7 separate regions of the Homo sapiens genome follow, and all the other regions are linked to region 4. Evidence: promoter capture Hi-C in 16 types of primary human blood cells and fetal thymus (Javierre and others, 2016). All regions are on one chromosome and are shown on one strand. Each heading gives the region's core, a stretch centred on a gene start or on the middle of the fragment in contact. The rest is flanking DNA. Distances are from core to core; before and after follow the strand shown. Region 1 holds the start of PKIA (cAMP-dependent protein kinase inhibitor alpha). Region 2 overlaps ZC2HC1A (zinc finger C2HC-type containing 1A). Region 3 holds the start of ZC2HC1A (zinc finger C2HC-type containing 1A). Region 4 holds the start of MRPS28 (mitochondrial ribosomal protein S28). Region 5 holds the start of FABP5 (fatty acid binding protein 5). Region 6 overlaps SNX16 (sorting nexin 16). Region 7 has its middle 3.8 kb from the start of SLC10A5.

Region 1 (3,812 bases), core at 267-2,766, 1.5 Mb before region 4:
TCCCATTATACTTAATCTGTATAAAAGGAGTATATGAATAGAATTCCATTTATACAGATTAAGAATCTCCTGCTCTATGGTAATATTAACGGGCTAATGTTATGAAAGTGAGTCTCAGAGCGATGAATTAAGCTGTTCTAGCTTTCAAAGAGCATATATTCTATGACCAAGAATTCTAACTAAGTTTTGTTGGAAAGCTGTTGGCTACATTATCACCTAACTTTGGGACTGATAGATGGATGGAAACATCTCATTTAGCAAAGGTGCTTCCCTGGCCTTGTGCAATTGCACTGTTTAGGTTGCTGGACAAATCCATAGTGTAAAGCTGGCCTGTATCAAGTGACGGTCAATTCAAACAGCAAGGCAAGTTAAAAGAGGGAACTCCATTCCACAGAACCCTAGTGTCAAGGAACCTCCCGACTGGAAAATGACTCAACAGCTAGGCGGAAACCCTGGCTCAGCTACAAAGAGAGCAAATTTAGTCCCATTTTTCCTTAAACATTCAACCCTCAAACCTGAAGAGATTTGGGAAAGAAGCAAAACGGGAGGGTGGGGGAGAGAGAACAGTCTTGTTAACAGCTAGTGTTAATTTAAAAAGAGAAGGAAAGGGCTTATATGAATACATGCTTATTTCATTCCCAAAGCAAATTTTCATAAATCCTTAGGGAAAGAGAGATAGTCATTTGCTAATGTAGACTCTGCTTTTTGATTCCCAAATGTTACAGCTGTCACCACAACAGTTTGCCCAATTATGTGGCAGGGAGGGGAGGGGGTCCAGAGCAAAGGAAGTAGGAGGAAGAGATGTTAGAGGGAACATCTGTGCACAAGTGCACCATAAACACAACAAAATCATGGGGCCACCCCACTGTTTCTTTGAGCGCTTTCTCTGGTTGGCCCCACTTCTCCAGTCTTTTAGGAGATTCCCGTTCTATTACGTAGGTGAGAGGGCGAAAGGTTCTAGCTTTCAAAATTGTGAGTGGTTTGGCTGTGTGCATACGTGTGTGTGCGCGCGTGTGTGCGTGTGTGTGTGTGTTTGCGTGTGTGTCTGTTGGCGGGGGCGGGGGTGATGGAGAGAGCTATGAAGGGCTTAGAAAGCTTCATTACCAATTTAAAATGTTTTTGTAGTGCTTGAATGTTTATCTTAAAAGACAATTCCTGCTCTCAAATTCAGCCAAATGAACAATGCTGATAAGGAAGATGAAGAGGGTGGGAAACCCACAGGGGCAAATGGAACAGTCCATGCAGCCGGGGTGACGGGGGAGCGCTCGGAGGAAGGACGCTATGCAGAGAAAGCCCCCCTGGCTCTTCTCTCTCAATCCATAATCCAGCGATGCTGCAGCTGTAAAAGCATTAATAGAAAATCAATCCACAACCTCGCGGGGCAGCGATCGTCGAGCGCCGTTTCCAGGCTGCCTTCCCTGGGGTCGGGAGCGGCCCCGCTCCCCCCGTGGCTGGCGCGGAATGTGGTGATCCGTCCCGGGGCGGGGATGACTTCATGCAGCCGGAGCTCCGCGGCGGGAGCGGAGGCTGCTGCTGGCAGGTGGGGCGCGGGCCGGCGCGAGCTGACCGAGCACTCGGCGGGCGCGGCGGGACTGCGGCCCGTGGCGGCGTGCGCGGGGACCTGCGCTGACTAGGTCCGGGGAAGGTAAGCAGCCCGGCACCGGTGCGCCCTGGCCGCACTGCGTGGAGCTTTCCGCTTGGTTAATAATGGGGTTTGCAGCACGGAGGGAAGAAGGGGAGAACCCCGCTGCATTCTGCAATGAGAAAAGGAGCAACAACTAGGATGGAAATGTTGGGCGGCCAAGTGCAGAGGTTGGAGGAGCAGTGTTACTGGGCAAACAAAGAAGGCGTTCTTGCCTCTATACTCTTTTGAACGTGATCTACCATTTCAGTGCCAGATTCGCGTAGACAGTGAAGAGGACTCAAAATTTAAAATAATTTGAGTTACTCTTTTGCTTTCTGTGCCTTTTACCTTCGCTTGAGTATTTTGAGGATTTGGAGCAGTAGGTCCCTGGCAGCAGCCTGAGGTAATCAGAAATCGTCCCTCTTCCTGTAGTCCTTGGTCCTCTCCCTTTCCAGTTATCAGAATGGGTCTGTGCCCCTCTCAATGGCAAAACACCTGCTTCAAGACTGAACCTTTAGAAAGAGCCTCTATCTGGAGGGGAAACTTCTCTTATCTCCTGGAGTTCAGCTTGGGTTGAGCAGCACTTGACATCGCTTCTTCCTTCAATTGCCATTTTCTCTGTCAATCATTTCATTGATCTTTTTCGGAGATGCTGTGCCCATTCACAGACCAACTCTCGTCAGCTCTTATCCACCACCTGGGTTCCATGACTGATTTTGTCAAGGTCCCAAAAAGGGCATTGCCTCACACAGATTTCTTATTCGGTATTCTCCCTGTATACTGTTACCTGTGTCCTTCCCCCAAATGCATGGAATGAAATATCCTGCTTGTGGCCCTGTACCAACATGTTATCCCATTAACTCCCTTCGCTGTAGTCACTGTGGCTACTTGAAAGCTAGAGAGGACAGATAGAATCTACTGGAGTGTGAGGGATGTTCCCTATGCATAGGCATAGGTAGAAGTAAAAATGTGAATGCCAGTCCATCCAGTTTTTCTTGAAGCAATTTTAGTCCAGTTGGATTTTGAGACAGCTAGCTGTTAAGATTTGGGACAAATCCTTTCCAAAAGGCAGAGGAGTCCGTTTGCCTCTAGGATTCCTCAAGAACCTCAAAAGAGTTTCCAGTGAGGTTTTCCTCGTAGGCAGTCAGAAAGCCAATGGAGCTGCCCAATCTAAGCCTCTGGTTGAGTATCCTCTAGTTTGTCTTGCCATTTGCAGGTTCCTATCCCTCGTCCTAGGATTTTCCCCACAGACCCCTTGCTACTGAGCCCAAGTGCCTATCCTTGTTGCCACCTAGAGATGTACATTTGAATAATATGCTGTGAAATGGTTAAGATGGCTGTTATGGGGATTGCAAACGTGCCACTTCACCAACAGAGAACAGTTGCAATAAGCCAGATTGTGGGGTATCTGTGTGCCAATGTTCTATTTAAAGGAAGATCTGTTATCTTTAAACTTAAAATTACAGAGACTGTCTGACTCAACAGCCATGCAATTTTATTTTAGTAAATTAAATTAGAAGATCAATGAAAAAGAGGGGCAGAGTTGGTAGCTTAAAATTTTACCTCTTTCTTTCCTCTTCAAATATTATTTTTAAGCAAAGACACTAGTATGGAAAATCGTGTTAATCATATTATATATCATTATTGCCTTTCTATTACAAATTTCGTTTTTACAAAATGCACTTTAGAAAGATTTGAATTTGTTTCTTTGTCTCCATCTTCAGTATATGAGGCATAGGGTGAGGGTGTAGGGGGTGGGCAAAGCCCACTACTGAGTGATCCACTCCAGGAACTGCCCCTTGGGGTCTTAATAACCTTATGTTCCTTTTTTGTTGTTGTTATTATGTGTTAAACAGGGTTTTGGTTTGAAATATTAACTTCTTGAGATTCTAGAATTTTTACTCAGTCACATTAACTATGAGGTAACAAAGAACAAGATCAACAACAAACCCTGTATTCTACCACCTTTTTTCTACTATTAAAATACTTAACCATATACATCATTATTCTGAATAATACTAATATAGAATAATAATGAATTTTAATATAGTTATTCTAAATAACCTAAGGTATATGAAATACAGATTAGTACAATTGATCTTAGAAATACAATGCAGTTTCTGTAATGTTGACAGTCACCTTTCTGTTGAAGAGCAAGTGCGTGAGAATATCCTAATGATGGTTAGAA
Region 2 (4,237 bases), core at 964-3,463, 1.3 Mb before region 4:
CACTTTAAAATGGGAATAATATCTTCTGAGATTTGGGGGACATTAAATAAGGCATGTGTAGTATCTGGCTTCATAATTGTCATGTAGTGGCTGTTTGAAAAATAGTGGATGTTGTTATTACCTGCATGTACTTTGGAAGCAGCTATTTACAATTTTAGGGTACTCTCTCCTACTTTGCCATATAAGTAGAGTAAGAAAAATTTCAACTAAAGTTTAAGAACCTCTAATCTGGAGGTATTTTTTAAAGTATTCTGCTGTTCATATAACACTGTTCACCTGTGAAATTTAAAGATTTGATTAAAGCTCTATAGAGAGGGAGGGAACTATGCTTCAATGAACATCTAAATCCTAGCTTTGGAACACACTAGCAGGGTCACCTTGGGTAAGTTACTTAGGGGCTCTTTACCTCATTTGTCTTATCTGTAAATGGAGTTATGAACGCTACCTATTTCATAGGATTATTAGGATAAATAAATTTCTATGGGCAAAATAATTAGAATTGTACTTGACATGGAGTAAGCACTATTATATAAATGTTAACTTATAGTGGCAACAACAGTAGTAATAGTATTAGCATCAGCTATCTAAATGTTTATATGAATTGTACTTTTTTTCTCATAACCTTTCTATAAGTGATCATTTTATAAATGATGAGACTCAGACTTGCTGTCACAAAGCTGTCAGTAGCATTAGCATTTGAATCTAAATTCATTTGAATTCCCAAGCCTCTGCTTTTAGTGTTATATCATCATCATTTAGTTTTCTAACCCTTCTTTGATTCTTAAAGTTTCAAAATGGAGACTCATGGATGATCCAACCAGAAGTCCCTCTGATTTCGGATAGCCCAGGCTGTGCAGTTGGTAAAATTAAATCTTTAAAGGGAATATTATATTAACTCATTTATTTTAGTTGCTGCTTTTTAGAACTTTCATAAGTTGAATATTATTCTTTAATGTGACTAGCAAAAAAATTCTTTTTTTAACTACATCGTATATGCCTAGAATAATGAAACTTGTTTGTTTATTTAACCATTATCCGTAAGCATTTATCAGAATATATGTTTTGAGGGAAATATAAATTTAAACTGTTTTTAAAAATGTATCTTTCAGAATGATTACCTTATAAATTTCATGTAAAGCATATATACATATTTTAGTTGATTTTATTTACTATCAGAATAGTATTAGTAAATGCAAAATTATTTGGTTTATCTTTAATATTAACTACTATTTGCTTTCAGATTTAAAATAATTATTGGGACTTTAATCTTTTGAACTTCTCTGAAGCTTCTAAGTATTCTTTCTAGTCATGTGAATAGGTAATTTGAGAAATACATGCTCACTGTTCAATACTTTTCCATTATTTTTCCTCTTTTTTATAGAGCTAATGTCAAACCCCGAAATTCCACACCACCTAGTTTGGCAAGAAATCCTGCCCCAGGTGTGCTTACAAACAAAAGAAAAACATATACTGAGAGCTACATAGCCAGGTATGTTTAGCTCTGCTCTCCCAATAACTAAAATAAAATTGAGTATATGATAGTTTTCCAAGGACCATACACAAAAGTAAGTAACAAGCTATTTATAGAAAACCTGATTTTTTTCTTTTAATCTGGCTTTTAAGTTGTACACCTCTAATGGATTTGGGCAAAGTAAACTGAAAACCTTCTGTAAAGGATTAACCCTTCTACATGCCACTAAGAACGTATGTGATTTATGGGAGGAGGTCAAAATATCCACATTAATAAGAGTTTGGAAGAAGTTGTTCCAAACTTCATGGATGACTTTGAGGGACTTAAGACTTCAGTGGAGGAGGTAACTGCAGATGTACTAGCAAAATAGCAAAAGAACTAGAATCAGAAGGGAAGCCTGCAGATGTCATTGAACTGCTGCAGTCTCACGATAAAACTGGAATGGATGAGGAGTTGTGGTGGCTCACGCCTGTAATCCCAGCACTTTGAGAGGCTGAGGCAGGTGGATCACCTGAGGTCAGGAGTTTGAGACTAGCCTGGCCAACATGGTGAAACCCTGTCTCTACTAAAAGTAGAAAAATTAGCCGGTTGTGGTGTTGCACACCTGTAATCCCAGCTACTCAGGAGGCCGAGGCAGGAGAATTGCTTGAACCTGGGAGGCAGAGGTTGGAGTGAGCTGAGATGGGGCCACTGCACTCCAGCCTCAGTGACAGAGCGAGACTCCATCTCAAAAAAAAAAAAAAAAGGCTGTTATAGTGTATAGTTCATCTAGCATCTATTTTACCTTTATTACTGTTTTTTTTTGTTTTTGTTTTTTTGGTTTGTTTTTTAAGACGGAGTCTCGCTCTGTCGCTCAGGCTGGAGTGCAGTGGCGCAATCTCGGCTCACTGCAAGCTGTGCCTCCCAGGTTCACGCCATTCTCCTGCCTCAGCCTCCCGAGTAGCTGGGACTACAGGCGCCCGCCACCACGCCTGGCTAATTTTTTTGTATTTTTATTAGAGACGGGGTTTCACCATGTTAGCCACGATGGTCTTGATCTCCTGACCTCATGATCCACCCACCTTGGCCTCCCAAAGTGCTGGGATTACAGGTGTGAGCCACCGCACCCGGCCTAGTATGTTTTGTTAATAGATAATAGAGACCTCCCTGTGAGTGCATGCATAAGAGTTTGTTATTTATTGCATCACAATAATTTAATATCATTAAATAATAAAACTAAAATAAATACTAGAAGCATCACCTCACAATCCTTGTGACCAAGGAGAGAGACTTGAAACCTAAGGATCTCTATCTTTCCTCATGGTTGGGTTCTCTTTAGAGATGGGTTTGCAGAAAGGACATCATAAATGTTCATTCTGCTCCCAGTGTAGTAAATTCCTAGCACAAAGAACAGATGGAAAGCGATGTGGTTTGGATTTGTGTCCTGCCCAAATCTCATGTCAAATTGTAACCCTCAACGTTAGAGGAGGGGCCTGGTGATAGGCGATTGGATCATGGGGGTGGACTTCCCCATTGCTGTTCTTGTGATAGTGAGTTCTCAATGTATCTGATTGTTTAAAACTGTATAGTACCTGCCCCTTCTCTTTTTTCCTCCTGCTCCCACCATGTAAGACATGCTTGCTTCCCCTTTGCCTTCTGCTATGAATAAGTTTCCTGAGGCCTCCCCAACCAAGCTTTCTGTACAGCCTGCAGAACTGTGAGTCAGTTAAACCTCTTTTCTTTATAAATTACCCAGTCTCAGGTAGTTCTTTATAGCAATGTGAGAACAGACTAACACAGAAAGCATGGCTGCATTTGGTCATGGTAAATTCTCGTAACACAGATAAATATAATGTTAAAAAAAAATGTTAGAATTTTAGTATTTACTAACAAGGATTTTTTAAAATTTGAACTAGAGGAATATTAAAAACGAGATTAAGCAGGCTAATTGTTATATTTATGTCCTGTTTCTCCAGGGTTATGGGTTGAAAACTACTGATACAAACTTTATCTTTTCATTGTTTCTTTACTTTTTTAGGCCAGATGGGGACTGTGCATCTTCCCTTAATGGTGGAAATATTAAAGGCATTGAAGGACATTCACCTGGAAACTTACCAAAATTCTGCCATGAGTGTGGGACTAAATACCCTGTAGAATGGGCCAAATTTTGCTGTGAATGTGGCATTCGAAGAATGATTCTATGAATAGAATCTCAAAAAAAAAAAAAAGCCAAGTTCAGAGTTTATGATTATTGCTGCTTGGACAGCTAGAGCACATCCTCTAGTTAGTTTGTGCTAAAAATACTCGAAATACCATTTCCAGTTAATTTTGAAGTGTAATCTTTTGGCTATATAATGTGTGTATGTTTATATGTGTACATATACTGTATATAATAAATATCTGATACCCCAGACTGTGTCATTCAAGGAAATATTCACTTATCTGTCAGAAAATAATTTCAAATGGAACAATTAATTTAGGTGTTACTTTTCTGTTGTTGTTAAAGCACGTTAAGTACATTTCCACAAACTCTCATACTCTAGTGCTTAGCCCTTCAAGCTTTAGGATAAGTATAACTTTGAGCAAAAAATTTGGATAAACATTTGTATTATTGGTGCCTATCTTCAGATAGTATCATAGTAGGATAGATGCTGGGAATTTTGTAATTAAAGAGAACAGTTTTAGTTACCATTAGGTATGTTAAGGTCACTCCTGTAGAGCATGTCAACAAATTATTTCATAAATCCGAAAAACTAAGAGAAAAAAAAACCCCTCTATTAGTTACGT
Region 3 (4,179 bases), core at 1,492-3,991, 1.4 Mb before region 4:
GATAAACTGAGTTCTCACCGAGACTCAGAATCTCATTTAGTTGTGCTCTGCAAATGATATGAATGAGAACCAATGGCTTTCTCTAAAAGGGGACTTGAACTTCGTGTGGGATTTAAGAGACTGGAGCTTTGAAACAAGAAGCTATATGCAGCTTGCTCAGCTTTTTGGGATGTGCAGAATAGATGTGGATCTGCTTAAGGGAATGGTGGTTGAAAGCAATATAATGCAAAGTGGAAAGAATCAAGGTATGATGTAATAAAACACAGATACAATATCTATTTCAGTTAAGTACTAGTTTTGTGATCTTGACCAAGTCAGAAACATCTCTGAAAGTTTGTTTTCCTTTTTGTATGATAAGGAGGTCAGAAGATCTCGAATTCTTATTGATCTATAAATGTTATTTTCAGTTAACAAGATCACATGGCAGGTAGAAAAATTATGTACAGGTAAGTGCTTAAAAACATGAGAAGAAGCTGAGTTTCATTCATTTGAGTAACTGGCTAGTGATAAAATGGACTTGAAGCATAGAAGGTACTCAACAAACATTTGTTGAATGAATGCATGCCGAAAAATGGATTAGACTGGAGAGGAAGTAATGTCATGATACAGTGCCAAGACAAGACTCTCAGGCTAGGTATGTAGGCGGCAGAGGAAAGAACTTATTGAAGGCAGATAGGAAGAAGTCCTCTTTACTCAGGGGTCAGAATCAGGGAAAAGCTGCAGGAGCCAGGGTAGCTGTAGCGTAAAAGTTATGAAGAGACCAAAAGCATAAAAGTTATGAAGATACCTGTAGGGAAGACTAGCAATCATGTTTTAGAGAATTAAGATTCACAATAGAAATGCCTACTCAAATATATGTTAAACAACATGTCTGAACGCTTGGGTTTACACTTGAGGCAGCTATAATAAAAGGCAAGGCAAGGAAAGGGAGTGAGGAGCCCAATCAAATCACCATAGGCTTTAGAATTTAACAGACAAGAGTGTAGCCAAGCTCTACCATCCACTAATAATACAAATATTGACAAAATATTAATTGCTCTGAGACATCTAGAAAATGAACATTTTAATTCTGATAAATGAAGATTGTAGTATCTACTTTGTAGATTTCTTTTGAAGATTTGTGAATATATGAAAATGGCCTAAAACATGCCTCACATGATTTATTCTTTAATGCTATTTTTATTATTTTTAATGTTACTGTAGATTTTATGTCGAATAAGGTATCAGCCAACTCAATATTCGTCTTGCCTTCAGTGAAAGAACTTGTAATTTGTAAAATAATGGCTTCCTTATTTTTGTATTTTCTTCTGTGTGCTTTTTTTTCTCCTTAATGCTCTTTTAAAAGGCCTTCCCTCCCAACCAAAAATTCTACCTTTGCCTTAGTAGCACTAAGGAAGAAAAAGGACCTTTCCGCAGCACCCAGTCTAGAGTAGCTTATTGCCTGCAAGGCTATGGGTTGGCCAAGGAGGCCCAGGATCTCAGAGAAGCAGAAGAGCCAGGGGAACCAGGGAAGGGCGGAGGGAGTCATTGAGGCATGGTTGAAGTGGTCTTTACATGGCTCCACACAACAGATGGACTCTACCACATTCAAATGCACTTGGAGCACCTTCTCAGTAAGAGATGATGCCCCCTCAAGTGTTTGCTTGTTTAAACATACCTTCATGTGAGTGGAGAGTAGGAGGAATCCTGCTTCCTGAAGGTAACTGATTTCATAGTAGATGAAGTTAGATATGAAGTTAAACTCTTCAATTAAACAGATTAACAATAACATTAATCCGAGGTTTGTTATGGACAACACATTAATACTGGTAACTTGCCAGTAGATACGCTATAGTCAGCAAACAGTACAGCTTGTTTACGATTGCTAAATCAAATTTTCAAAGAAATGTAGTTCTGGTAATTGTAAGCAAAACCGTTAAAATGGTCTGAGTTAGTTTTGAAGTTACTTTCATCTTCAGGAGGTTTTGAACTCTGTTAGAGACGGGCGGGCCTCATTCTGTCAGGTTGTAGGTTAATTCCCCAACTCAAACTTCCCCGATCAAACATTGTCAGGCCAGGCGACTGTTTTGGTTTATGGATGATAAAGTATAGGGCCAAGGTAGGCCAAGAGTAGAAGACAGAGGGAGGGCTGGGTTTCACTTCTAATTTTTGGCCCAAGCTTTCATGGTGAGGAAACTGTTTTCAAGGGCTTAGAGCAATCGCAGTTCCACAATCGCAGATAGAAAGTATGATTTCTCTGGAAAAAAAGTGTCTTAACCTATGAAGCTGTGTGTGAAGATCAAGTGTAGGGGATACGCTGAGGTCAAGTCATGCGACCAAAGACCGGAAAACGGAGATTGCTGCATGCAAGCGTGCTGGGCGTTTGTTTGGTTTGCTTGCCTGCTTAAAGTATCCACTGGGAGGGATGGCGGCTAGAAGTCAGAGGCATTGACTGATTGAGGAACTGGTGAAGCGGAGCCCATGAGGTGCTGAGGTACTCTAAATAGGAGGATAAGGTATGAGGCAAAACAAGGCTGGAGTCAAACAAAGGCGCCGTTGCATCGCAGATTGCAACCTGAAGCGGCTCCCGGCTCCCTGGAGAGTAACCCGGAGAGACGGACAGGGGTGGCAGCCAGGAGGAGACCGCAGGAACCTCGCCTCCGCCGCGGCCCCGCCCCCACGGATCCCCGCCCCCGCAGTTGCGGAACCAATGGGAGCTCGGAATGTTAGCGGGTGGGAGGTGCGGCTGGGTTGCTACAGCCAGAGCTGGGCGGTGGCGGGCGCTGCTGAAGGAGTCTCGCTGAGCTCGAGGAGGTGGCGCGATGGAGGGACTGGAAGGTGAGGCGATGAAGGGATGAGGGCAGGACGGCTAGAGCGGGCCCGAAACAGCTGGGGACCCTGGACACCAGTAGCAGGAAGGCGAGGGCTGGTTCGGTGCGGCGGACCTCGCCGCGTCCCGCCGCGCCTCCGGAGGCTGGGGCCGAAGGGAACCGGACAGTCCCCGATGCGGTGGAGCTAACGCTACCAGGCTGCCCCGCCTCAGACGGTCTTCAACTGGGCTTTCCCGCCCGGAGCCAGATCCTGCCCCTGGCAAGACGCCTGCACGTCTCTTCCTACCATTTTCTGATCTTGCTTGACTCCTGAGTGCCCTTTTAGTGATCCCAGTCTCTGGCCAGATTTTGTTTTCCTTGTACTGGACTCTCTCCATTATTGTCCACGGCCTTAACACCAACAGGCCACTTTGTGCTGCAGCCCCGGGGTGTGTCTCCAGCCTCGAGCTCCTGACATTCCTTGGCCGATTTCCCTAGGTAACCGGCTTTTTACATTTCGACAGCATCTTCTGTCGGAGGGATGTCAGAGCATCTCCTAAGGAAGTGTCACTGGCCAGCTTTAGAGCCGGTACAATAGATTACCCGGAGGATTTGATGACTTATTCACGGCCGCTGTGTGAGGAAGAGCCTGTATTGGTTCCTTATCTTTGGGTTTATCTTTGTACTGTAACCATGACTCCAGATTTTGCTTTGTTCCCAGTTCTTTCACTTTTTCTCTATTCTGTTTACCCATTTTATCCTGTGTAATGAAAGCATTCACCTAAAAACAAAGGAAGGACAAAAACCACAATAACTAGCATTGGCAACAACAGTTTCAAGATTTTTTAATTTGTTATGATGAAGAACAAACCTTCAGAATTGAAAGATCCTATTGTCTTGATTTAGCTCCTTTCCCCCGTCTCCTAGTTTACACGGATTCAGTTGGAATTAAGAATGAGCAGAAGCTTTTGAGTCTTGTGTATTGTTGCATGCCAGGGAGTAAAATATTCTACATTGTGTGATGAAGTGCAAAGTGGTAGCCGGTAACTTTTTCAGTCACCTATTCACCAAAAAGCAGATGTAATAACATGAGTAGAAGTTTATTTCGTGCTTTTGCTCTGATAAATGATTCTGATAATTTTCCGTTTGTGGACAGCTGCAGTATGCTATGGCCTAATGAAGGTCTTGTTTTTTGCTTATGTGTTTTTGGAAGATAATTCAAGTTTCCATGAAATAAGGAATTGTAATGATAGTACAGTATATTTTACTTTCAAGATACTTTTGTATCTTGGTGGGATTAAAGCATGGGTTATGGAATTCTCATGAGATTATCATATATAATATGATAAGGTTTTATTACATATTATCTATAAAGTGTTTTGAACAGTTT
Region 4 (4,187 bases), core at 1,161-3,660:
TCATCTAGTAGAATAATGTTTTCTAAACTGTGTTAGACGGAGAACAACCACGCAGGGTGCAGAGATGCTGCTGAGCCTGAGCTGGACTGAGAAAATCTAACGGATGTGCTGGGACTGCCAGGAAACACCCCAGCCTCCTCCTGGAAAAACTGAACAGCCCAATTAGAACTGCCTTGGAAAGGAAAGGAAAGAGAAAAGGAAAGGAAAGGGAATTCTGGGGACTCTAAAACACCTTGGTTGTTTCCTTCATTAAATAAACAGTACATTTTTAGTTTCAAACACTTAACTTACTATACATGTGATGCTACAATTTTCACTCTTACCACAGTTAACTCAGCAATTGAGAATTATTTTGGGGGGTTTCCGAAGGGGCTTAGAATGTGGTATGAATGGGAGCGAAGCGTGAGTGAGAAATATTAGGTAAGAAATAGAAAAACTCCTTTCCTATACATATATTTGGAAGGGAGCACTGAACTCTATGTTTCCAACCTTACTGCACTTAACTCTTATGGCCTTACCTTAAGGATGGATCTAAAATCCATCCCTTAGGTGGCTTCAGGTCAATCATCGCTATTCTGCTAGTATTTTATGACTTCTCCATATATGGTAGAAAGAATAATGCCCCCTCCCCCTACAAAGACATCCACATCCTAATCTCTAGAATTTGTGAATATGTTACCTTCCGTGGCAAAGGAGAATTAACTTTGCAGGTGGAATTAAGATTGCTAATCAGCTGATCTTAAAATAGATTATCTAGGGAGGCCAATGTAATCACAGGGATCTCAAAAGCAGAAGACGGGCGGGGGGGGCGGGGCCGGGCGGGGTCAGCCAGGCCAGGTGGCTCACATCTGTCATCTGTAATCCCAGCACTTTGGGAGGCCAACGCAGGAGGATCACTTGAACCCAGGAGTTCAAGACCAGCCTGGGCAACATGGCAAAACCCCATCTCTACAAAAAAAAACAGAAAAAACAATTAGCCCAGAGTGGTGGTGCACACCTGCGGTCCCAGCTATGAAGCAGGAGGATCACTTGAGCCCAGGGGGTTTAGCAGTGAACTGAGATCATGCCACCACACTCCAGCGTGGGTGACAGAGCGAGACCCTGTCTCAAAAAACAACAAAACAAACAAAAAAATCCAAAAAACAAAAAAGTAGAAAACAGAGGCAGAAAAGACAGGCCAGGAAGAGATTCTCCTAGAAGCTACGGAAAAGAACACAACTTCACCAACACCTTGATTTTAGACCAGTGAGATCCCGTCTGACTTCTCACAACCCTAACAACAACACATTTCCTGTGTTTTACGCCACTAAATTTGTAGTAATTTGTTACAACAGAAAATAATAAACTAATATACCAGGCTTCTTCTAGTCCTTGGATTTCAGAAAAATTTTGACATCAGTAATTGCTACTAAAATGACCCTATAACCCAGGACACTGCCAGTCTTGTGAACTGTTTGGTACTACTCCCTAGGAAGAAAAATACAGAAATTGAGAGTTTATTTGTATATAATTCAATTTCATGTCTGCTGAGTTTAATTATTAAAAACTTAGGCTTGTAATTTTATTTCTTCCATTTCATTTATCTATAAATTTATGGTATTTTACAAAAGTACTGGCTGAGACAAACGGAGATTTTACTTTACTTTTTAAAAAAAGAAGACATTTACAAAAGAGAGGTGAAGCGCTGACAAGTTAAATCACTTGCCCAAGTTCAGAAAGTGATTCATCACCCAGTCATTAAATTAACAAATGTTTATGAAGGGCCTTCTACTCCAGACAGCAAGCTCCATGCTAGAGCTACTGTTCAGAACAAGACCCAGCAGAGCCCTGCCTCTCCGTGTGAGTCCCATTCTCCTTAGCGTCCCAGGAATCGCCCTAGATCGCCTCCCCAGCAGCGCTCCCCGCTGGTTACCTTCCCACCAGCATTCAATCCCAGGAAAACAAGCGCAGTGTGGACAGACCCGGCCCAGTACGCAAATGCCACACAAAAGGACAACGAAAGGAAGAAAAACACCAAGCACAGATTCTAGGGGCCGAGGGCTGAGCCACAACGCACCGCAACTCCGGAAAACTGGGCCCCGGACCTCAGCTCCCCTTCCTAAGCCAGGCTCCGCCCCTATTCCCGACCCCGCCCACCGCGTCGTTGGCGTAATTCCCGCGACTCCCTCTCACCCGCCCGGGCTCCACCTTCTGTAGGGGCTCCACCTTCTGTAGAAGCTCCGAGTGCCGCTCCAACGCGCTCGCGAAACCGCCTGCGCGCGTCTTAGGCTCCTTGGCATTGGAACTACCACTTTCGGATCCACTCTCAGTGCCTACACCCCGAAAGGGCCTGAAGAAGAGAAACACTCGCAGAAAATGGCTCTCGGCAGCCACAGCACGGGTCCGACACAGCGCCGCCATGACTTCTTTACCTCTGACCTTTGACCTCCCCTCCGCAAGCGCGCGGGTCACGGGGCGGAGCTATGAGAGGTCCGCCCCCCGGACGCAGAGCTCTGGAGGCCAACGAGGCGTGTCTTCCTTTCATCTGGGAGTGGCGTGGGGAAGAAGAGACTTAAGCTAAAATTGGTGGGCTAAATAGTTGGAAAGGGGCCTGGTTAAGTTTTGCGTTAGAAGTGCGTTTAACTTGCAGGAATTTCGCCTTCCTGGGCATCCGTTGGACCCCATTGTACTGTAAATTCTGCTAACGCGACGCTCGTTCTCCCGCCCTGCCGTCCCCCCTACATGGCCGCCAGCACTCGAGTTTGGGGTCTTCACTCAAATATGAGGGTCTCCTTGATTACCCTATTTAGAAGTGGAAGCCCAAATGCAGACTCTCTGGCACCTGTTTTTCTTAGTACCATGTAGCACTTTCTAATATGCCACATATTAATATTAAATATTTAATAATATTTAGTGTCTACTCCCAACTTTTTAAACTTTGAAAAGAGGAACTTTGCTGTAGGGTCCCTAGCACCAGGCACAGATTAGGGCTCACCCAACATTTGCCAAACCCTGCATCCAAGTTTGTCCTTTGCCACTTCTGCAGCCAGTCCACTCACGCCACAAAAATAGTTTTTCTGAAATGTTTTGACACCTCTAGATACCTATTATCTAACTTAGGAGTTCAGAAGTTTTGGAATGTCCCTAAGTATTGCACCGCCGTAGGCCCCCACCCTCACTCTGGATTTTCTTTCCCTTTTCTCCTGCAGTGTTAATTCCCAAAATTTACCCACCCTGTTCAAAACAGCCTAACATCATTCTTAAGTGTTTATTAATTAGTTGTCCGTCTATCTTTGACCCAGCAGTTTAATATTAATCCACAGTTAGTTTTATTTTGGGGGCACACACCTTTCCAGTTCATTTGCAAGTACTTCGAGAGAAAGAATTTTTATGATCACAGACCCTATTTTAAGAATGCCTTGACTATGGGTTTTAAGCTTTTCTGATGCTCTCTAATGGTACAGATAGTGTTAAGAACACGAAGTACACTGATCTCAGAATGGTGCACAATTGTATGAATCACATAAAATTATTACTAGCTAACTGTATGGTAGTCCTTACAAATTCATTAAATTCTCCAGGTGAGTTCTCCCTCTTGGCAGTTAAAACTGTTTATCTCCCGAGACTATTAATGGACTCTTGCCTAGAACATTATTTTCTACGGATAGTGCTACTTCCACTTTTTTTCAGGAGAAAGTGTGGTAAATTGTAAAGAGCATGGCCAGTGGTCTTCAAGAACCCTCAGTCTGACTGGGCAGGGTGGCTTACACTTGTAATCCCAGCACTTTGTGAGGTTGAGGAGGGAGGATTGCTTGAGATGAGGAGTCCGAGACCAGCTTGGGCCATAGCAAGAACCAGTCTCTACCAAAAAATAGAAAAATCAGCCTGGGGCAGTGGTGCATGCCTGTAGTCCCGGCTACTTGGGAGGCTGATGGAGGAGGATCACTTGAGCCCAGGAGTTTGAGGCTGCAGTGAGCTATGTTCCTGCCACTTCACTCCAGCATGGGTGAAAAGTGCAAAACTCAAGTATCCGTAAAAACACACCCCTGGCGTGGTGGCTCACACCTGTAATCCCAGCACTTTGGGAGGCCAAGGAGGGCAGATCACCTGAAGTCAGGAGTTCGAGATCAGCCTGGCCAACATGGTGAAACCCTGTCTCTACTAAAAATACAAAAATTAGCTGGGCGTGATGACACATGGCTGTAATC
Region 5 (4,059 bases), core at 664-3,163, 1.3 Mb after region 4:
AAACAAGACATTCAATGTGTTTCCCTGAGGAACAGAGCAATCACCATGCCCTTTTTTGTTCCACAAGATACAATAACGGTTATTATTCTGGCCATATAGCTTTGTTTTGTCTGTATGTTTTAACACAAAAGAATTATTTCCACTCATCACATCAGAGATTGTGTTTAAACTTAAGTTTTAAGTAAGGCCTTGGGATTAAAGGCTATTTCTTAAGTACCTAAGTATCTAGTACTCCAGTGCCATTATCTTTTTGATATTTCTGTAACATGTTAGATTATGATCATTTAAAAATTAGTATCAGAGTGCTGCGTCCTATTATTACTACATATAGTCTATACAGAAATGGATAAGACATGTTGAAATAGCACATGAAGAGCTCAAGTTCAAACACACAGGCAGCCCTAAGGAGCTGCCTGAAGTGCCTGGTAGCCAGGGCTTCTCATCACTGAGTAAATGATGCACTCAGCTTCCCTCAGAACACGAATATTTTCTGAGCAGTAGGGCCTCGGGTGTGGGACATGCAGACCCTTATTGGGAAAACAATTGAGTGTTAAATGGTACCACAAGGAAGACTGGTGTGACCCTAAACTGAGGGCAGGGACTTGAAATGAAAGGGATGCAGTTCAGGGGAGTACATGTCCTGCAGCATGTTGGGAGATAGCAAACCAACCTCAGATTTCAATTTTGTCAAGGATGATACAAGAACTAGTAGTGTCTCGGTGACTGTGGTCTACTCAGAGCTCCATCACAGCTACCCTGAGCCCAAGGCAGTCAGGTGTGGTCTGATTTCATAAGGTCTTCAGTGAGACGGACCTGGATGGGGATTCTGGTTCTACCACTGTGAGAACTATCTTTGCCCTATTTTCTCTTTTGAAAAATTGGGATAACACCCCTAGCAAAAATATAGTGGAGACCAATGTCTATAAAGTGCCCAGGAAGCACATCTAGCACTTAGTAGCTACTCAATAAATGCACATTACCGCTATCGAAACGGCCAGCCTGTGTGGCAACTTCCTCACCTCAGTCCATCTGACTTCCAACAGGCACCCGGGAGCACCAAGTAATAAATTGTGAAGAGTACACTTTGAAACGTATCATGTTCTACGCACATGTGTAGGGTATTATTATAGTTCAAGAGAAAGAGGGAACCCGCTGGTGTCTGAGAAGAAACCCGCTGGTGTCTGAGAAGAAACGGTGAAGGGTGCACTACGAAGGGAATATAAACTAATCAAACATTCTTGAATGGCAATGACAGTCACTAAAGTTGACACTTCCTGCAGTCTTTTAGTTTAGAAACCACACTTCCCGAGACGTCCCCCATCCCAACAGGGATAAAATCCTCTAGCTCAACTCAGGTATATCCCCACTATTGGGCCAGGGAGACCTGCGGATGGCGAGAGCAGGTTCTCTTAGGAGGGTGTGGATTGTGAGCTTGTGCGCTGGCGAGGAGCAGAAGGTCAGGGAGGCACCGTAGTTAATGAATCAATAAACCAAACAGCCGATCAATCACTTCCTGCAGTCCGAGTCCGGCGAGGGCTAATCGATTGGTCCGGGTATTTTGAAAGGAAAAACGGCGGTGGATATGTTGTCAAACGGAGGGGTGCAGGAGAGGCGGGGCCAGGCCTCCAGGTGACCCCTCTGGCTTCCTGGGCCTGCAGAGGCGCCGAAACGTGCAGGCGCCGGCGTCCATGAGGCGTGGGGCGCGCCGGGCGAGTCCCTGCTTGCAGGAGGCGCCCGAGAGGCCGTCGCGTACCCTGGCAAGAGGAGCTGGTTAGCACCTCCCGACCCCGAGAAGGCCCAGGGGGCGCCCGGCGGGCGGGGCGGGGACCGGGCGAGGCCCGCCTCCCATTGGCCGCATAGCGCCGCCCAGCGCGGGCCGCCGTTATAAAGCAGCCGCCGGCGCCGGGTGCCTCACAGCACGCTGCCACGCCGACGCAGACCCCTCTCTGCACGCCAGCCCGCCCGCACCCACCATGGCCACAGTTCAGCAGCTGGAAGGAAGATGGCGCCTGGTGGACAGCAAAGGCTTTGATGAATACATGAAGGAGCTAGGTGAGGCACCCGGCCTGGCAGCGCCTGCAACGTGGCGTGTTGTGCGGTCGTCTGTCCCTAGGTCCCCGTCAGCGTGCCAGATTCTGGGGCAGGAGATGCTCGGCGGCCTACCCCCATCCCCTCCCATCTTCCCCACCACGCGGCCGTTGGGTGCAGCGCGCGCAGCACCACGCGGGCAGGCGGCGAGGAGCAGGGAGCGTGCGCGCCTCTTGCCCGCCCGCGGGCCGCAAGATTCCGGAGGTGGTCCACCCCGTGGTCCACCTACCTCTGCTTCTTTCCCTTCGCCCAAACGGCAGCCCTTCCGCATTGCTTCCTGTCCTTTAGCGCGCGCACCCGTCACCTCACGCTGCACTTCTTTCGACCCCCTCCAGGCGACCCTGTATTTCCCTTTTTTCCCCCTTTACTCATCCTTCCCCTTCCTGCCACCATTCTGTCTCTCCCATTTACCCCATCGTGGCAGCACCCACTCCCCTTTCCCTCCCTGTCGCATCTTTTGTTCCCTGTGGCGCGCAGGTCACCCTCCGTTTTCTTCATGGGGACGCGGTGCTGGCGCGCAGTTTCCCGCAGAAATCCTGTGGAGGGGTCTGAGTGGCGCTACAGCTTCAGCTTGCATTCCTCTGTCAGCCCCGTCTCCCCCAGGTCCTCTGCTCGCCCTTACCAGTTGAGCCGAACCCTTTGGATTGGTACCCCATGGAACACCAGGGCCCCCGAGAAGCGTGGCGCTGGCGGTGCCGACCTGCTGCTGGCACTGCCGGGCCGGGGCGCCGCAGTGGGCGGGTGGCCTGTGGGAGGAGCGCAATGAGGCCTGGGGGTGGCCGTGTGTTGCCATCCTGGCCTCTGCCACTTGAGGGTGAGGAGGAAGGAGGCAGTGGGCTTTGCTGGAAAACCGTAACAGAAACTGCCTGGCCCTCCTGCGGCTAACTGCATGCAAGATGGGTGTGGCCCTGCAGAAGGCAGATGACTTCTTGAAGCGTTCCGAGGGAGAATGAATCTCAGTAGTAAGATTCATTTCTCACTCAAAACAGTGCTTCATTATAAATTACTGTCCTTTTCTATGCCAGTGACAGATTGCATGCTGATTGAGACACTGGATAAATTGCAAACAAAAATGGACCTTTGTCACAGGCCACTAGGAAGTGAGATGGAGTTAGCATAGCATGGATCCTCTCTGGAAGGGAGCTTCCAGCCCTAAGGGATGGCTGGGATTTATGAGGGTGCTTCAGAAGCCGGTATCCACAAATGTTAACCCGGTTGCTCGCTGGTGAAATAACTACCGTGACCCTCTATTGATACCTGGTCGCCGTGGCACTTCGGAATCACTCCTTCAGTACCCTTTATCCAAGACCATGTGGTGTTAAGGCTGGTTTATGGTGAATCATGAGTGTATTTTTGATACTATCAGTAAAGAAGGCAGTATTTTTCTTTTTCCTTGTAAACCTACATCAAGATGACTCTGGAAAAAGCGATTTACTGCACCTGTCCAATAAATAACAGTGTGTGTGTGTGTGTGTGTGTGTGTGTGTGTACAAGTTTAAGGCCCAAAGAACACTTTTCTCTGCCTGTAGAAAGCAAATTGTGTGTAGGTTTGGAGGGCTTGTTTCCAGGATTCTGGAGTCTTGAAGGTTGTCAAGACTCAGTTCATTAGGGAGCAGTCACAATGTGAAAAGAGCAGAGCCCATTTATTTGTCCAAAGTGAGAGTACATAATGACTCAATTAACAGCATAAGGCACCAGCCCTGAGCTGGCAAAAGAGAAGGCTCCAAGGGGAACTTTAAAGCCTGGCTGGGTGTTCTTCATCAAGACAATCATGCTGCGTAGGTTGTAGTCTCCTCATTTATGAAACAGTGATTTGGCCTGGATCTAAGATTCCTTATACATGTTAACTAACTCTAAGGGGAAAGAGATAGATCATAAATTACATGTTAACGTTGAGGGGAAATTGATAGATCATAAATTAAAATATAATTTAATATGTTATATATTTCTATTGATTTATATACCTATGAA
Region 6 (4,102 bases), core at 649-3,148, 1.8 Mb after region 4:
TCCTCACATTTCAAAACTAATAGTGCCTTCCAGACAGTCCCCCAAAGACTTAACTCATTTCAGCATTAACTCAAAAGTCCACAGTCCAAATTCTTATACGAGACAAGAAGTCCCTTCCGTCTATGAGCCTATAAAATCAAAAGCAAGCTAGTTACTTACTAGATACAATGAGGGTACAGGCATTGGGTAAATACAAGCATCCCAAATGGGAGAAATTGGCTAAAACAAAGGGGCTACAGGCCCAATGCAAGTCTGAAATCCAGCAGGGTAGTCAAATCTTAAAGCTCCAAAATACTTTCCTTTGACTCCATGTCTAGTTCATGTCTGGGTCCTGCTCATGCAAGAGGTGGGCTCCCATGGCCTTGGGCAGCTCCACCCCTGGGGCTTTGCAGGATATAGCCCTCCTCCTTCCTGGCTGCTTTTATGAGCCGTGGCTTTTCCAGGTGCATGGTGCAAGCTGTTGGTGGATCTACCTTTCTAGGACCTGGAGGATGATGGCCCTCCTCTCACAGCTCCACTAGACAGTGCCCCAGTAGGGACTCTGTATGGGGCTCTGACCCCACATTTCCCTTCCACACAGCCCTAGCAGCAGTTTTCCATGAGGGCCCTGCCCCTACAGCAAACTTCTGCCTGGGCATCCAGGCATTTCCATACATCATCTGAAATCTAGGCAGAGGTTCCCAAACCTCAATTCTTGACTTCTGTGCACTCACAGGCTCAACACTATGTGGCAGCTGCCAAGGCTTGGGGATTACACCCTCTGAAGTCACGGCCTGAGCTCTATGTTGGCCCCTGTCAGCCATGGCTGGAGCGGCTGGGACGCAGGGCACCAAGCCTCTAGGCTGCACATAGCACAGGGACCCTGGGCCCAGTCCACAAAACCACGTTTTCCTCCTACGCCTTTGGGCTTGTGATGGGAGGGGCTGCCATGAAGACCTCTCATATGCCCTGGAGACATCTTCCCCATTGTCTTGGGGATTAACATTGGGTTCCTTATTACTTATGCAAATTTCTACAGCCAGCTTGAATTTCTCCTCAGAAAATGGGATTTTACTTTCTATTGCACTGTCAGGCTGCAAATTTTCCAAACTTTTATGCTGTGCTTCCGTTATAAAACTGAATGCCTTTAGTAGCACCCAAGTCACCTCTTGAATGCTTTGCTGCTTAGAAATTTCTTCCGCCAGATACCCTAAATCATCCCTCTCAAGTTCAAAGTTCCAGAAATCTCTAGGGCAGGGGCAAAATGCCGCCAATCTCTTTGCTAAACCTAACAAGAATTACCTTTTCTCCATTTCCCAACAAGTTCCTCATCTCCAACTAAGACTACCTCAGCCTGGACTGTAGAAAGAGGTTTATTTGACTTACAGTTCCACATGGCTGGGAGGCCTCACAATCATGATGGAAGGTGAAAGGCAAGTCTCACATGCTGGCAGACAAGAGAGGACAGCTTGTGCAGGGAGACTCCCGCTTTTAAAACCATCAGATCTTGTGAGACTTATTCACTATCACAAGAACAGTATGGGAAAGACCTGCCCCAATGATTGCCCCTTGTCCCTCATCTGAGACAAGGCAAGTCCCTTTTGCCTATCAGCTTGTAAAATCAAAAGCAAGTTAGCTATACTTCCTAATTACCTCCCACCAGGTCTCTCCCACAACACATGGGAATTAAATGAGATTTAGGTGGGGACACAGCCAAACCATATCAGTGAGCAAGAAATGAAACATTACCAATCAAAGAGGTCCATAGCATGCTTCCTTCCCAATTCTACTCACTACACATCCTAGTCAATTTTTGTCTTTAAACAACCTTTTTAAAGACTAGACACCTTATATATTATCAGATCAAGAGTGAGTCCTAATACTTTTTTCAGTTATGAGAGCAATTCAAAAGAATATATCTAGAAAAAATTATTTTACAAACCTAAGATTCTCAAGTTTGTATCTCCAGCTTATACCTCTCCCTTAAACTCAGCTTATATGTATACACACACATTACATATGTATGTGTACACATTAACACATGTAACATCTCCATTTCAATGTTGAACAGACATATCAAATCTAGCATGTCTAAAAACAAATTTTGATCATCCCTCAAAACCTGTCATTTAATTAAATGGCAGCCATATCTTCCCATTGTTTAGGCCAAAACTTTTGAAGTCACCTTTGACCTCTCTTTCTCCCACACTCCACTTCCAAATCATTAGGAAATATTGCCGGTTCTACTTTTAAAACAAATCCAGAACCTGATCACTTCTCAGGACTTCCTCCACCACCCCAGTCCACACTACCATCATGTTTCCCTTGGATTACTAAAAGAACCTACTAACTGCTTCCTGCTTTGACTGTCCCCCATCTCGACCAAACCAGTCTCAATTCAGTAGCCAGAATGAACTTTTTAAAACATTGTCAGATCACATGACTCTTCTTTTAAAAACCTTTTAAAAGATTCTCATCTCATGCAGAGTAAAATCCAAAGTCTTCACAGTGCCTCCTTCCCTATGTGATCTGTGTGCCACACTTCCCTGCCTGTCATCTCATTCCCTACACCTCCCACAGCTTACTCTGCTGTCAGCCACAAGGATCTTTGTAGTTGTCCCATCTGTGTTGAAAACACATTCTCATGGCTCATTCCCTGTTAGCACTAACATCTTTTTGTGAGGCCATGACTGATAGTGCTATTTAAATCCCAACCCCAGATTTGGGGAAACTCCCTGTCTTCCTTCTCTGTTTTATTTCTCTCTATAGTGCTTATCACCATGTGACATATCAGGCGTCTTATTATTTACTTACTTATCATGCTTTCATTCAAATTGCTGTACCACTATTACCCAGAACAGTGCCTGAGGCATAATAGGTAATTAAAAAAATGTTGAGTTAATAAATAAATGAATATGACTAATTTCATATCTGTCATTTACTTCCTCCTCTCCAGTCTCTTGAAATGCTTTACATAACACCACCTTGTATTTGGCCAAATACTTGCATCTTCACACATATCATCTGTCTTAGTCTGTTAGGTCTGTTATAACAAAATACCATAAATTTGGTAGCTTGTAAACAAAGAAATTTATTTCTCAAAGTTCTAAAGTCTGAGAAGTCCAAGATCAAGACAGTAACAGATTTGGTATCTGGAGAGGGCCTACTTTCTGGTTTATAGATGGTGCCTTATAGCTATGTCCTCAGATGTGTAAAGGACAAAAAGCTCTCTGGGGCCTCTTTTTAAGGGTCCTAATCCTATTTATGGGGGCTCTGCTCCCATGACCTACTGGCTTCCAAAAGCTCCATCTCTTAATACCATCACCTTGAAGGTTAGGTTTCAACATATGAATTTTGAAGGAACGCACATTCAGACCATAGTATCAACTCAATAAATGCCTATTTCTTAATTCAGGAAATTGGCCATCAGTTTATATTTTCTAAAAATTTTCTAAAAAGAGAGAGAGAGACAGAGTTCCCTGAAGATTTCCTATATCACAGTCTTATGATAATTTTAAAGACTGCCTCTTCATAAATTATCTCAACAATTTTTCCTTGGAGGTCCTCCCATCCTGTCATAAATTTACAGCATGAAACATTGAAGTAAACATTAAACTTTACTAAAAGAACAAAGTCTTACCAAAAAAGTAAACCTTTTGAGTTAATAAGAGAGTTGAGCAAGGTTGCTGGATATGTAAACATAAAAGGACAAATTATATAAAATAGCAGTAAATAGAAAACAAAAATAGATGTCTCTCACAAGAACATCAAACAACATCCATATCCTGAAATAAATCTAACCAACAGATGTAAGAACCCTGCACCAAAAACAACAAAACATTACTAGAAAAAAATGACTTAAGTAAATGGATTAGGTTCATAGATTTGAAAACTCAGTAAAGATGTCAGTTCTCCCCAGATTAATCTATAGATCTAACAAAATCTCAATGCAAAGGGTGAAGAATAGCCAAGGCCATCCTGAAGAAAAAAGCTAAAGTACATACACTGCTACATATCAAGACCTATTATAAGACTTTATTAATTAAGACAGTGTGAAATTAGTAAAGGATGAAAAAATAGAACACAGAAGCAGACCCATGCATTTATGGTCACATGATTTATG
Region 7 (3,924 bases), core at 717-3,216, 1.7 Mb after region 4:
CCCTTCAAATGAAAACCTTACAAGCTTCCTATGTCAGGTGAGCAGGAAGTCCAGTTTTTCCAAGAGGCCTCACCTCAACAGCTACTTCACATTGGTTCTCAGGTAACTCACTCAGTATTTTTCAGTCCAAAGAGGCCGTTCTGCTTCCAAATGCCTTACCGAAAGTGAAGTGAAAATCTGCCGGTGCACAGGGAAGTCTTAGTGTTCAGGCTCGATTATAGTGGGGCTGGAAACTGGTCTCACAAATCCAAAGGATCTTTTCTCTGATGCTGTGAAGGTAGTTCACATGGCTGCAGAGACCTCAGTACAGGATGCATGGCCCTTGAGTTCCCAAAGGGGCATTTTTTAAAACTACAGTCCCATCTGCAGCCATTGTTCCCAAACCTAAGAATATCTGCTGTGCCCAGGTGGTTGTCGGGGGCAGGGGACAGCAGCACAAACTCTGCTTCCTGGCATGATGTCCAGCTCCTCACTCTTCCAACCTTCCCTAAGGGGAGTTCCCTCTTGGAGGCCTTTGGTATCCTTTCCTGTCAGCTGACTCCCATCTATGAGAGAGGTTGTAATTACGCTGAACCTCAGAATGAAAGAGAGGTGAGATCCAATGCCCCTGACACCTCCCCAGACAGCTGAGTGTACACAAGAGAGTTCTAGGGAAGGGTGGCCCTGTGAAGCCACAAAGTGGTCTGGTCATCCTTCCCAGTGGGCAATAGGTGCTTCCTTGTTCTGTATTTGTACAATAAAGAGGGGCCATAGGAATTCCTTCCCCAGAAATTGTGGGCATCTTGCCAACTACACTTAGTCTTTGGAGATGACTTCTTTTTAAATAACCACTCTCTTCACTAAAAAATAATTCAGGTTCCACATGCGAAGACGTTCTTGGTTATAATAATTATTTAAGTGGACTTTGATTTAAATGATCAAATATAAATACACCATGGCAGCTGTTCAGGGGTGGAGTGTCCAAGGATATCTAATAAGATCTCATGTTTGATATAACAGATTGGAGTTGCATATATTGGTTAAGACTTTGACATACCCTTATAAGGCCAACAGCTTTCCAAGATATAAAAATATATATCATAAAATTGTTATTCTTGGAAGAGTGTATCATAGAATCATCTCTTAAGAGCTGGAAAGAAACTTTTTTAAAAATTGGCATAACCATTCTATCTCTGGATCGTTATTCTATCTTATAGAATCGTGGCTGTGGAAAATAGTTGGTATGAACTCAACTGATTAGTCAGTCTGCTTTATGCCTCTCATTCTTATTTTTTTAAAAAGGAATAACTTGGGTCACCCCATCCCTATCCATATTTTTGGACAAGTTTTACTATGTAAAATCTGTCCTCCTTGATACATCTATTAAAGAAATAAAATATACTCCAAATTCCATCCATGCCCTTGCAACTGCTTTATAAGATCATTTAAATATGCATAATGTAACAAAAATAATAATAGGGCTTACCATGTGTCAGGCATTCTTATGAGGACCTTGCTCATATTAATTCACTTAATCCTCACAATAATACCACGAGGTAGGTACTACCATTATCGCCATTTTCAGCATGAATTTGGGCATAGAGAAATCAAGTAACTTGACCAAAATGTTCCCCAGCTGGTAAGATGATGGAGCTAGAAGTGCAGCCCAAGAGGTCAGGAGTTCAAGACCAGCCTGGCCAACATGGCGAAACCAGATACAAAAATACAAAAATCTCTACCCAAAATACAAAAATTAGCTGGGCATTGTGGCAGTCACCTGTAATCCCAGCTACTCAGGAGGCTGAGGCAGGAGAATTGCTTGAACCTGGAAGGCAGAAGTTGCAGTGAGTGGAGATCATGCCACTGTACTCCAGCCTGGGTAACAGAGTGAGCCTCCGTCCCCCCGCCCAAAAAAAAAAAAGAAAAAAAAAAAAAACAAGTCAGCCAGGCACGGTGGCTCAGGCCTGTAATCCCAGCACTTTGGGAGGCCGAGGTGGGCGGATCACCTGAGGTTGGGCGTTTGAGACCAGCCTGACCAACATGGAGAAACCCCATCTCTACTAAAAATACAAAATTAGCCGGGTATGGTGGCGCATGCCTGTTGTCCCAGCTACTCAGGAGACTGAGGCAGGAATCGCTTGAACCTGGGAGGTGGAGGTTGTGGTGAGCCAAGATCGCACCATTGCACTCCAGCCTGGGCAACAAGAGCAAAACTCTGTCTCAGAAAAACAAAACAAAACAAACAAACAAACAAAAAACCCAAAACATTATGTAAGTTAAATTTGTACAAATGTAATTCTATTTTAAACCTATAGTGGATATTTCAGTTTAAAGGAGTAAAATATTCTACATACACAATTATCACTTTATAAACCAAATAAACATCTATCATGTCTATTTGGTTTATATCAGATTTTATACAAATTTTGGTAGTCATATACTGGATTTGGTGGCATTTAAAGAAAAAAGAACCTTGGTTATCTTATCAACTGGCAAAGTAAACAAAAATTCTCTAATTCTATGATCAAGATGGTGAATAGTACTGATAGAAAATGTTGAAAGTTTTAGGCTCCATACATAGTTATACGATTGCTATTTCAAACTAGCAGCAGATCTACCAGGGTTGAAAGTTAAAACTGATAAAACAATAGCACTTACTATGTCCCAGGCACTCTTCCAAGCACATTACATGTATACTCTCACTTAATTCCTAGGACAATCTATGGAGTTGACACCATTAGCTTCATTTGTTAAATGAGAAAACTGGACTATAAGAAGATCAAAGAATTTGCCATAAGGCTAGGAAATAGGGAAAGCAGGATTATTTAGAGTGATATTTCCTATTCTCGATCCCACACTTTCTTGCACAAGATCGTAGACTTGCCCTAGATAATAAAAATTTTCACTGAAGATTAAAAGGAGGTTTTTGAAAAGCACACTATTTATTTGGACACTAGTCTGTGCTTCAACACATTATTTGAATAAGCACACAGAAGATACTGTGTTAGATGTGATAGGGAATATCAAAATGAATAAACATAGTTATTATGCTCAAAGACTTAGAGCAAAATAGGAAAATTAAAACAGGACACAAATAGTCATAAAACAAGCCAGGTTAGCTGGAATGAACAATACTCATAACATACTAAGTCATTCTGTTTGGGTAAAAGACTATGTGTAACGAGGTGAGAGAGGAGATATAATGAAACTGGGAAACTGGCTGGGCGTGGTGGCTCAAGCCTGTAATCCTAGCACTCTGGGAGGCTGAGGCACATGAATCACAAGGTCAGGAGTTCAAGACCAACCTGGCCAAGATGGTGAAACCCCGTTTCTACTAAAAACACAAAAATTAGCTGGGAGTGGTGGCAGGCGCCTGTAATCCCAGCTACTGGTGAGGCTGAGGCAGGAGAATCACTTGAACCTGGGAGGCGGAGGTTGCAGTGAGCCGAGATCACACCACTGCACTCCAGACTGTGTGACAAAGTGAGACTCCTTCTCAAAAAAAAAAAAAAAATAATAATAATAAATAAAACTGGGAAGCTAGGTTAAGGTCAGACAGTAGAGTATAATAAATGCCTCATTAAGAAATACAAATTCATTTAAAAAGCAAAAAGTCTTCATTGCTGGGAAATTATATGGTCAATGTTAGATTTTAGGAAAATTAATCTGACAGTGAGTAGAGGGTGGAGAGACAGGCCAGAAGCCAATTTAGAAAGGTTTAGGGAAGAAGCAATATAGTGCAGAAAAAAGTGATAGCACTGAGAATTGAGAAGAGCACTGGCAATTGAATTACAGGCTGTTTCTGTAGGAAATACATTCACTATAAAGAAAGAAAGAAAGAAGACAGAAGAGAGATGAGGTTGAAGAGCTGACCCTGTGTTGTGGGGTAAACAGTAATGCCTTTGGTGGGTTAACATGGAAGACAGGAGAAAGCTTAGCTCTGAG

What was found. The method cuts DNA at HindIII sites, captures the fragments that hold promoters and counts their contacts. A CHiCAGO score of 5 or more calls a contact.
Region 1: a contact is called between the fragment with the promoter of PKIA here and the fragment with the promoter of MRPS28 in region 4, in 5 of 17 cell types (fetal thymus, total CD4 T cells, total B cells and 2 more). The highest score is 8.8, in fetal thymus.
Region 2: a fragment that was not itself captured here is called in contact with the fragment with the promoter of MRPS28 in region 4 in 1 of 17 cell types (monocytes); the score reaches 5.4 in monocytes.
Region 3: a contact is called between the fragment with the promoter of ZC2HC1A here and the fragment with the promoter of MRPS28 in region 4, in 2 of 17 cell types (monocytes and non-activated CD4 T cells). The highest score is 6.9, in monocytes.
Region 5: a contact is called between the fragment with the promoter of FABP5 here and the fragment with the promoter of MRPS28 in region 4, in 2 of 17 cell types (activated CD4 T cells and naive CD8 T cells). The highest score is 7.5, in activated CD4 T cells.
Region 6: a fragment that was not itself captured here is called in contact with the fragment with the promoter of MRPS28 in region 4 in 1 of 17 cell types (neutrophils); the score reaches 6.7 in neutrophils.
Region 7: a fragment that was not itself captured here is called in contact with the fragment with the promoter of MRPS28 in region 4 in 2 of 17 cell types (naive CD8 T cells and erythroblasts); the score reaches 5.7 in naive CD8 T cells.

Annotation. Positions count from the first base shown.
Region 1 is chr8:78,514,824-78,518,635 of GRCh38, forward strand. PKIA (cAMP-dependent protein kinase inhibitor alpha) reads left to right here and starts at 1,517. Exons shown (of 4, transcript NM_006823.4): 1 at 1,517-1,645. The region is part of intron 2 of LOC105375911 (a long non-coding RNA gene); the gene reads right to left. RefSeq lists a silencer at 1,462-1,761 and an enhancer at 2,082-2,191. The HindIII fragment of the contact is 11,771 bases long and covers 1,094-3,812 here.
Region 2 is chr8:78,713,840-78,718,076 of GRCh38, forward strand. It overlaps ZC2HC1A (zinc finger C2HC-type containing 1A), which reads left to right. Exons shown (of 9, transcript NM_016010.3): 8 at 1,382-1,489; 9 at 3,489-4,237. The coding sequence ends at 3,654. It also overlaps a transcript of IL7 not described here. Among named protein-coding and RNA genes, the nearest start is that of ZC2HC1A, 50 kb to the left of the region's middle. The HindIII fragment of the contact is 1,858 bases long and covers 1,285-3,142 here.
Region 3 is chr8:78,663,348-78,667,526 of GRCh38, forward strand. It overlaps ZC2HC1A (zinc finger C2HC-type containing 1A), which reads left to right and starts at 2,742. Exons shown (of 9, transcript NM_016010.3): 1 at 2,742-2,817. The coding sequence starts at 2,802. LOC105375911 (a long non-coding RNA gene) reads right to left here and starts at 2,632. Exons shown (of 4, transcript XR_007060972.1): 1 at 1,658-2,632. RefSeq lists enhancers at 1,865-2,373, 2,374-2,881, 2,846-2,895 and a silencer at 2,556-2,775. The HindIII fragment of the contact is 1,596 bases long and covers 2,157-3,752 here.
Region 4 is chr8:80,027,849-80,032,035 of GRCh38, forward strand. It overlaps MRPS28 (mitochondrial ribosomal protein S28), which reads right to left and starts at 2,411. Exons shown (of 3, transcript NM_014018.3): 1 at 2,188-2,411. The coding sequence starts at 2,400. All of the region lies in intron 5 of TPD52-MRPS28 (TPD52-MRPS28 readthrough), which reads right to left. It also overlaps a transcript of TPD52 not described here. RefSeq lists an enhancer at 2,134-2,563. The HindIII fragment of the contact is 3,845 bases long and covers 1-3,414 here.
Region 5 is chr8:81,278,623-81,282,681 of GRCh38, forward strand. FABP5 (fatty acid binding protein 5) reads left to right here and starts at 1,914. Exons shown (of 4, transcript NM_001444.3): 1 at 1,914-2,052. The coding sequence starts at 1,974. It overlaps LNMICC (lncRNA associated with lymph node metastasis in cervical cancer), which reads right to left and starts at 2,802. Exons shown (of 2, transcript NR_186603.1): 1 at 2,711-2,802; 2 at 1-1,754. RefSeq lists enhancers at 1,557-2,391, 2,392-3,226 and silencers at 1,583-1,662, 1,673-1,962. The HindIII fragment of the contact is 5,532 bases long and covers 1-4,059 here.
Region 6 is chr8:81,834,397-81,838,498 of GRCh38, forward strand. All of the region lies in intron 2 of SNX16 (sorting nexin 16), which reads right to left. Among named protein-coding and RNA genes, the nearest start is that of SNX16, 5.7 kb to the right of the region's middle. The HindIII fragment of the contact is 7,425 bases long and covers 1-4,102 here.
Region 7 is chr8:81,689,248-81,693,171 of GRCh38, forward strand. No RefSeq gene overlaps it. Among named protein-coding and RNA genes, the nearest start is that of SLC10A5, 3.8 kb to the right of the region's middle. The HindIII fragment of the contact is 3,888 bases long and covers 23-3,910 here.